Regions from separate parts of the Homo sapiens genome. Here regions 1 and 3 are each linked to region 2. Evidence: promoter capture Hi-C in 16 types of primary human blood cells and fetal thymus (Javierre and others, 2016). All regions are on one chromosome and are shown on one strand. The core of a region is centred on a gene start or on the middle of the fragment in contact, and the rest is flanking DNA. Distances in the headings are between cores, read along the strand shown.

Evidence for each region. Contacts are between HindIII fragments. The CHiCAGO score rates a contact against its expected background, and 5 or more counts as called.
Region 1: the fragment with the promoter of INF2 here is called in contact with the fragment with the promoter of KIF26A in region 2 in 1 of 17 cell types (erythroblasts); the score reaches 5.3 in erythroblasts.
Region 3: a contact is called between a fragment that was not itself captured here and the fragment with the promoter of KIF26A in region 2, in 2 of 17 cell types (endothelial precursors and naive CD4 T cells). The highest score is 7.3, in endothelial precursors.

The regions. Positions count from the first base shown.
Region 1 is chr14:104,688,180-104,690,879 of GRCh38, reverse strand. INF2 (inverted formin 2) reads right to left here and starts at 1,262. Exons shown (of 23, transcript NM_022489.4): 1 at 1,141-1,262. RefSeq lists silencers at 749-798, 889-1,128, 1,149-1,238, 1,339-1,598 and enhancers at 1,291-2,280, 2,281-2,700. The HindIII fragment of the contact is 13,120 bases long and covers 1-2,700 here.
Region 2 is chr14:104,137,213-104,139,912 of GRCh38, reverse strand. KIF26A (kinesin family member 26A) reads right to left here and starts at 1,326. Exons shown (of 15, transcript NM_015656.2): 1 at 1,149-1,326; 2 at 625-870. The coding sequence starts at 1,190. It overlaps KIF26A-DT (KIF26A divergent transcript), which reads left to right and starts at 1,284. Exons shown (of 3, transcript NR_158217.1): 1 at 1,284-2,383; 2 at 2,671-2,700. RefSeq lists a silencer at 2,158-2,327 and an enhancer at 2,024-2,700. The HindIII fragment of the contact is 14,398 bases long and covers 1-2,700 here.
Region 3 is chr14:104,658,651-104,661,350 of GRCh38, reverse strand. It overlaps LINC02280 (long intergenic non-protein coding RNA 2280), which reads left to right. Exons shown (of 2, transcript NR_135293.1): 2 at 1-231. Among named protein-coding and RNA genes, the nearest start is that of LINC02280, 5.6 kb to the left of the region's middle. RefSeq lists enhancers at 889-1,483, 1,484-2,078. The HindIII fragment of the contact is 936 bases long and covers 930-1,865 here.

The DNA.
Region 1 (2,700 bases), core at 13-2,512, 550 kb before region 2:
TGGGGGCTGAGCACCGACACCCCAAAAGCCCCTGGCTGGGTGGCACCCTCGGGGTCTGAGGCACTGCTCTGGGACCCCACCTTCCCAGTGCAGGGCGGCAGGGAGCAGGTCCCAGCCTGAGCTGCTGTCCCACCCTTCAGAGTGCAGATGTGGAAACTGAGGCCGGAAGAGGGCGAGTATCCTGCTCCATTCCAGTGCCAGACGGAGGGGCAGGGCTGGCAGTAAGGGAATTTCCTACGTCCAGCGCCTTCTGGGTGTGCCTGACCTCTGGCCCGGTTCCTGGGTTCCTGGTTCCCTGCCTGGGCAGGGTCTCTGCCTCTCTGCCTCCTGGTGTGTCCAGCTGGAGTGGGCAGTAATGCTGTGGTCACAGCTGAGCTGCGGGAGCCCTGGGTGGGGAGCTTGAGCCCCAGAAGGCCCAGACAGACAGACCACCCCCCACGCCTGTGCTCCCCAGGGGGCATTGGGGACGGTCAGGGACACAGCTGGTCACCCCGCCTTCCCCTCCTTAGTCATGGTCACTCCTGGGGCGACTCCCCAGTTAGAGGGTTGACGGGTGGGTCTGGGGGCGTACAGGGATTGGATCCTACCCCACCCAAAAGGAACAGAGAGCTGTGATGGAGGCTGATTCCCCTAAGCCTGCCAGCGGTTGCGGGGTGGGAAGGGCTCCCTGTGCGCCCACCTGCGCGTGGGCAGCTGGAAGCCAAGCAGTCAGGGTGGGGCCGCAGGCCGGCGCGCACCTCGGGGTGCCACCCGGGCGGCGGACCCGAAGTTGAAGTTTATTTTCCCAACTGTGGCTGATTCATGGTCAGGATGTGGCAGCCGCGAGGCGCGGAAATCCCGCCTGCCCTGGGAGTAGGCCCGGCCGACCCTGGGCCCACCACTCTGCGGCCAGTGCGCGCTCGGGCGGTGCCTCGGCGCGGAGGACCATAGTCCCGAGCGGGGCGCGCGGAGCCGGGGGGGCCAGGGGCGCCCTGGGGTCCCCGCCCGGGAACTGTACCCTGCGCCGCCGGACCGCCCGCCGCCACCTGGGCACACACGCCGCAGCCCGGAACCTCGCTCCTGGACCCAAGCACGCCCCTGCCTCCTCCCGGACTCAGTTTCCCCTGAAGCTCCAAGCGGACCCCGAGGCCAAGGACTTACCCGGTGAGGCAACGGCCAGAGGGCGGTGGTGCGGCCGGCGCTCCGTCCGGGGCCGGGTCAGGGGCTGCGGGCAGCCGGCGCCCACTGCCGCGCTCCGCAAGGCTCGGACGGTGGCTCCTGGCGGGCGCGGGGCGGGCGGGGCGGGCGGGAGGAAGAGGAGGTGCCGCCCCGCCCGTCAGCGGCCACGTGGGGAGCGAGCGCGGGCCGGGGGCGGGGCCTGGGGGGGGAGGTGGGTGGCTGGGGGTGGCCCCGCCCACTGTGGCCGGTCCCTGAGGGCGCTTTAAGGGGTCTCCCCACTCCCGTGAATAACCTGGCCGCCCCCTCGCGGTCCCTGCTGGCCTGGCTCCTGGTGGGCGGAGATGGGGGTGGGACGCGCAGATCGGGGCCGTCTCCCGCCTCAGCCCCCACTGTCCGCCCCGTCCCTGCCCTCCACCGCCTCCCGTCCACCTACACCCCTATCCTCCGGTGGGACTGGCCTCCCAGGCGCCGCTCACCTCTCTCTGCCCCGGCCCGGGACTCCCGTTCCAGCCAGCCGGATCCGGAGTCCCCGCGTTCGGGGATCCCTCAGCAGAGATGGCTCTTCCCAGGCTTTGGGGAGAGAGAGCCTACCCATCAACCAGGCCACCCATGTGGCCTCCTCTCCGCAGCCCTGCCTGACCCCCTTCCACCCTTGATGGGGTCTCGGCGGTCTTGGGCAGCCGCACTTCGCCGGTTGGTGGAGACAGCTGCATGAGGGCCGCGGAGGTGTCGCAATGGGGTGGGTTTTCTCTGCCACCCCTCTGCTGTCCGGCCTCATCTGTCTCCTAGATTGAGGGGGGCACCCATCCCCCCACCGCCGACATTGACCAGCATGGGGCGTGCCCATAGTCGGCTCTGAAAGCCAGCCTGGTTGGATGAGAGCCAGACCCCAGCTCTGGAAGTCCCTTCTGACGTCTGACCCTCAGTCAGAGCTGCAGGAAGCAGCGCACCAGGCCTGGGGTTTGGGGGCCACTGGCAGCTAGAGGGAGGGCAGAGGAAGGCAGGCCTGGGGGAGCCCCCGTGTGACATGTGACAGAGCAGACACAACCCCTGCCCTGAGAACCGGCGCCAGCACTCCCTGTGCGGCCTCAGGCTCGGATATGACTCTGTGGAGCCTCAGTTTCCCCATCTGTAAAATAGAATAAGTACCCGTAAGGGCTGTATGAGGGTCAAGAACATGCGGATAAAGTGTCTCCACTCGGAGTCCTGACATCTCTCTCCGGAGGGCCTGCTGTGTGGGCCGTGGCGGCCAGGGCTCAGGGTGAGGGCGAGGGGAGAGAAAAGGGCTCCTGAATGGCTTCCCAGCCCCGATGCAGCTTCTGCTTTGAGGCCAGCTGCGTGTCCTTTGGCTTTGGTGTGCCTCCGCTCCGGTGGGGATAAGCGCCGAATTGCAGGCTGCGTCTGTCTGCTCCCTGTGCGGACCTTGCCCTGCCCAGCAGCCCCAGCCCCGGAAGTTTGCTGGCTCAGCCCCAGTGCAGGAGCAGCTGCAGGCCACAGCCCCGGGTGTGCCTGAGGAGCCAGCCAAGGCAGGCGCTCACTGGA
Region 2 (2,700 bases), core at 77-2,576:
AAGCACCTGCCCCTGGGGCTGGAGCCTGGGGAACCCAGAGGGCCCCGACTCAATTCCCCATGGGCGGCCACTGCCTCAGTCTATCCCAGGAGGTATGGGACAACAGTTCTTATCCTTGAGGCTGGGAGAGGAGTAGGCAGGGACCCCCCAGCTGCTGTGGCCCACCCTTTCACCTGCCAGGCCCCCCGGCCCCAGGTATGTAATTTCCAGACACCTGGCTGGGGGCCCAGGTGCCCCAAGGGCCACAATGCACCAAATAACCTCTCCCTGCTGGTAGGGCTGGAGCTGTCCCGCCCTGGGTGGAGTCCCTGCCATCCGCTCTCTCCCCTCCTCCTCCCACACAAACCTGCGTTCCAGCTGTGGGACATCTGGGCTGGGGGAGGAACGCCAGCCCAGGCCCCTCCCATCCGAGGCAGCAGGGCCCCTCGGGCTGAGCTCCCTAGCTCACACATGGTGTTACAGACCGGGAAACTGAGGCCCGCAGAAGGGAAGTCCTGGCTGATAACTCTTTGTGGAAACAGCAGCAGGGAAGGAGTGGAACCCTGCTTCCCTCCAAGCCCCAAGTTCTACCCAAGTTCGGCGTGGCCCTGCTCGGAGGGGTCGGCCTAAGGAAGTGTCACTTACCCGGAGGGTGGTCCCGGGCCCGCTGACCAGCTTCCACGCCTGTCGCTTGAGCTCCACCAGCTTCGTGTGGCAGTGGCGGCACCAGCCGCCTCCGCCGGCCGAGTGGCCCTGCTCTGGGCCGGCCCCGGCGCCTTCGGGAGCAGGGCGGCTGCCGCATGGGTCCTGGTCGGGCCCGGCGGGTAGCCTCTTTCGGGGGGACACCTCCAGCAGCGGCGGCGGCTCGCGGGCCGGGCCGCCCTCGGCCACCTGCAGGGTGTGGGGGCGGAAGCGGACAGTGAGCCTGGGACGTCCGTCGGATCCAGACCCCTGCGCGCCCTGCCCCAGCGTGACGCTCTTGCCAAAGTTAGGAGCCCTGGGCACGACCCTGGCGCTCACCCACTCCCTCCATCCCCGGAGGTCCCGCCTGCGGGTCCGCTACCCTCAGCAGGAGGCCCGGCCCCCAGGGATCCAGCGCACACCGCGAGTATCTTCGCCGTCCCGGGCCCCCGCCGCCCGCCTCCCTCTCCAGGCCGGGCCGCGCGTACCGCGGGCTGCGCAGCGCACAGAGGGACGCCGCGGCCGACCATGGCCGGGGCGCGGGAAGAGCCCGGCAGGCGCTCCCGGCCACGCTGGCTCTCCGGGGGCGCCGCGGCTACGTGATCCGGCCCCGAGGCGCCCCCATGGCCCGGCCCAGCCGCTCGGAAGTTCGCAGAGCCTGCGAGTGTCGCGAGGAGCGCGGTGGCTCCGGTGGGCGCGCTCGGGAGGCGAGGGCGGGGCCGGGGAAGGGCGGGGCTCGGGCTCCCGGGGCGGGCGGCGAGGGGCGGGAGCCCAGAGAGTGCCCCGCCCTTGCCCAGTGCTGGGCGGCGCGTGGGGGGGGTAGGGTCCCCGCTTCCCCACGCGGCCCCGCGCACTCCAAGGACCCCAACCTGTTAGGTGAGTCCCTGCCCCGGGGAGGGGCGCTGGGGGCGGCGGCGAGGATCTAGTTGCGCGCGCGCATGCGCCTCCCGCCCCTCTCCCGGGACACCAGGGCTGCGCGTCTCCCAGGAGGCGCCGACGCCCCTCCCTCTACAGGCGGGAAAACTGAGGCTGCGGAGGGGACGCTCTTGCCCAAGGCCCACGGCGAGGTGGGCCGAGGAAGGGGCGGGACCCCGGCCCCGAGACTCCCAGGCGCCTTTCCAGCAAGCCCAGCGTACTCTGCGTGTCGCGGGCCACTTTAGGTCTAACTGTCGCGCGTGGGTTAGTGTCGCCGCGGTGTGCGCCTCGAGCCGGGCAGCGACCGCGCCGGCGTATCTGTGCCTCGGCGCGTCTGCGAACGGCACGTGTCTTTACAGCCGCGCGTGTGCCCGCAAGTGGGTGTGCGCGCCGTGCCGCCCGGGAAGCGGGAGGTCCTGCGGGCGTGCGCCGGACCTGTTGTCAGCAGGCCTGGCAGATGGGAACTCAGCTCCGGAATTAATTGCTTGTTTGTCTCCGGCTGGGAGGCCGCCCCCCCGCCCTTCCCTGGCGACCAGTTGCTCTGTGCCTAGCCGGGCCCCAAATGTCGCCGGCATCCGCGGCCGCAGGCAGCTCCGGGCCAGGCTCCGGGTCAGCCCCAAAGCCCGGGTCAAGCCAGGCGGGCGCGGCGGGCGGGCTCCCCGTGACGCGAGTGCCCCCTGCCGGCCGCTGCGCACACGGCTCCGAGACTGGGGAGACAGCGCCGCGCGTCCCAGGCCTGAGGCGCACTCGGAAACTCCGAAGGTCGTGACCCGGCGGAGACCAGGACACGCGGCTGCCGGCACATACGGTGAGGCCTTCGCAGAGACTCAGTACGTCAAAGTGACCCTTTCCGTTTTGCCCACCCCCTTTTACTTGGATAAGCCTCCCCGCCCACGCACGCACTCCCCAGAAAGTGGGGTGGGTGATCCCCTCCCGGCTTTCCGGGTCGTTGATGACCTTAGGGGTTCGAAAACGCAAGGGGGTATGGAATAAAGTGGCAGGGGCTCTCCACTCTTTCTGAGATCCGTAAGCCTGCAGTCGCTTTCCACCCAGCCTGGGGGGCCGGAAGCGCTTCCCCTACCCGTCTCTTCGCAGCCTGGAGAATGAAAACGGGCGTCAGCCCAC
Region 3 (2,700 bases), core at 148-2,647, 520 kb before region 2:
GCTGGCCAAAGGCATGCCTGGTGGAGAGAATTTTCTGGAATGTGAAGGAGAGTGCTGTGGAGAGGAGCCATGACATTCCCAAGGCCACCTCACACAGTCATCTGCCATCATTTGCAGATCACATGTCAGCTTACTTAGCAAGCCTAACAGAACGGACAGGAAAACGTAATGTTATAAACACATAATTCTCCCCAGAGAATTATGGGGACATAATAAATTCAATGCAATTCTAATTGGAGTCTCATTTGGGCTTCAATTTTTTTTTAAAGAAATAAATAAATGTAGTCTACATTTTACATGGAAGAATACAGATCAAAAGCAGCTAAGATGGCTTGAGAAAGAAGAAAACAGACAGGGTGTTTGCGCCTACAAAGCCGGGTAACTGAAAGCAGCAGTGGAAGAGGCTGGGCCCGTGGAGGGAGACCCAGGCTGCACGGGGTAGGACGGAGGGCTCTGCCGGGCATTTCCTCCTGGCCCCCCCGGGGAGCTGAGGTGTGCGTAATTAGTACTTGTGCTTGGTGGGGAGGAAGTGAGAGCAGAGGGCGCTGGGCCACTGCTTCTCACTTTCTGGGACCCCAGCATCCCCAGGCAGGAGCGTCCCTGTCCTGGCAGGCAGGTCTTGGGCCTCAGGTCTGAACATCTGAATATCTGTGCAGCCCTGCCAGGGCCCCTCTCGGTCCTGCAGGCTCCTGGCGCTGGCTGGGGCACAGGGAGCCCTGAAGACGCCTGGGGGTCTGTGGGTGCTGCAGGCACCGCTGGCTGGTTATAGTCGCAACAGCCCCCAGGTGGGCAATTTTCCTTCCACTTCACAGTGGAGGAAACGGGTTCTGAGAGGTAGCAGCTTTCCCAAGTGCAGGGGGGTGGGGGCAGGACTTGAACCCAGATCCCTGAGAATCTGAACCCAGGCCTCTGCTCTTGCTCTCCAAGCTTCCAGACAGAGAAGGAGAGTGGGTGGCGACGGCCATCGGGAGGGGCTCCAGACGGAGGACCGGGCAAGTGAGCGCCTGGTGGGCGGCCTGGGGCGGAGGCACCCAGGGAGCCCAAATCGGGGCACCTGGGAGGAGGAAGTTCCCAGAGGACTGCAGACCCTGCAGCTGTGCCTCCGAGGTCAGAACCGCCCACGCCCGCCAGGCAGGACGTGCGGCTCCTGGCCGCAGCTGTCAGGGAGGAAATTCACGTCTCAGCTGAGGTTTAAGAGGCATCTGACCCTCTGCTAAAAATACTCGGGCAGCGTGGGTCCGGTGGAGTTGGCTGTGGGGTGCGTCTGGGTGGGGGTCCCAGCGAGGCCAGAACAGGCGCCAGCGACCTGCAGAGCGGTGCAGTGCGGTGGGGCTTGTGGATGCCGGGCCTGCAGACCAGCTCCATGGGAGAAACTGGGGCGGGGTAGGGAAGGCGCGGTGAGTCGCCGGCCCGCGGAGCCCCCGTTTGTGCCCTCGCTGGCAAACTGTGAAGCCCGTGCAAGGCGGGAGAGGCCGTGGGCTGGCGGGAACCTGGGCGTCCTGGGCTGCCCAGAACGTGCTGCCTCAGTTTACCCAGCTTTACCATGCAGAGGCCAACCTCGCCCCTCCCTTTCTCACCAGTGGTCAGTAAGATTCGGGTGGTGTTGGACATCACCTGAACAGATGTGGAGGTGGAGGGGGGTTGAGGTGTAGGCAGGGGCTGTGGAGCACCCTGGGGGGGCAGGTGTTGGACACTGGGGTCCCGGAATCAGGCCCTGTGATCTCAGGGAGGCTCACCTGGCTTCTGGTTCCCAATCCCCTTCTGGGTGAGTGGACGTGCACCCCTCCCCCAGTGCAGAGGGCTTGTTGGGGTACTCTGCAGGTCTTTTCTCCCCACAGCAGGGGTGGAGTAGGAGAAGGGAAGCTTCGGAGGGAGGGGCTCTGGGCTGGGAAGGAGGGAGGGTCTGAGAAGCAGGGAGCCCTGGGACTGGTTGGGGCGGGTCACTCTGACACGGATCTCACTGTGGAGGGGGTGATGTTGCTGAGACCTGCATGGGTCCGGGCTTCCAGTGGCCCCACCAGAATCCAGGGCCACCAGGGTGGGGGGTGCTGGTGGTTTCTGAGTACCTTCCCACACTGCCCCCATGGCAGACCCCTCCCAGCAGATCCCAAACATTCCCCACTATGCAGGGGAAGGGTGAAGCCACATTCCCCACTACTCAGGGGAAGGGTGGAGCCCCCTTCCTCTGGGACCACCCGCCTGGAGTCACCTCCTCTGGGCCTGCATATCCCTCCCGGGGAGGGACAGAAAGGAAGGTGGCAGCTGGAGGGCTTCCAGAGACCACCGACCAGCACCGGGCAGACAGGAAGACTCTGGAAGTCAAGCTATGACTTTTTTTGAGACAGGGTCTCGCTTTGCCACCCAGGCTGGAGTGCGGTGGTGCGATCTCAGCTCACTGCAACCTCCATCTCCTGGGCTCAAGTGATTCTCCTGCCTCAGCCTCCCAAAGTGCTGGGATTATCTGCATGAGCCACCGCTCCCAGCCTAAAGGGGACATTTTCATTGTCAGTTTCTTAATTTCCACTTTAGAGGGCAGGAAACTAAATCAGCCAGTTTGGTCCAATGGCAGGGGTTTGGGCCCCTTCTGAGGGCAGCCTGCTCTTCAATTGTGGGGGCTGCCTCAGGGGGCCTTTGGTTTCGCATTGATGGGATGGCTGTACCACTCATCTTCCAAACCAGGACAGCTTTGAGAGAGAAACA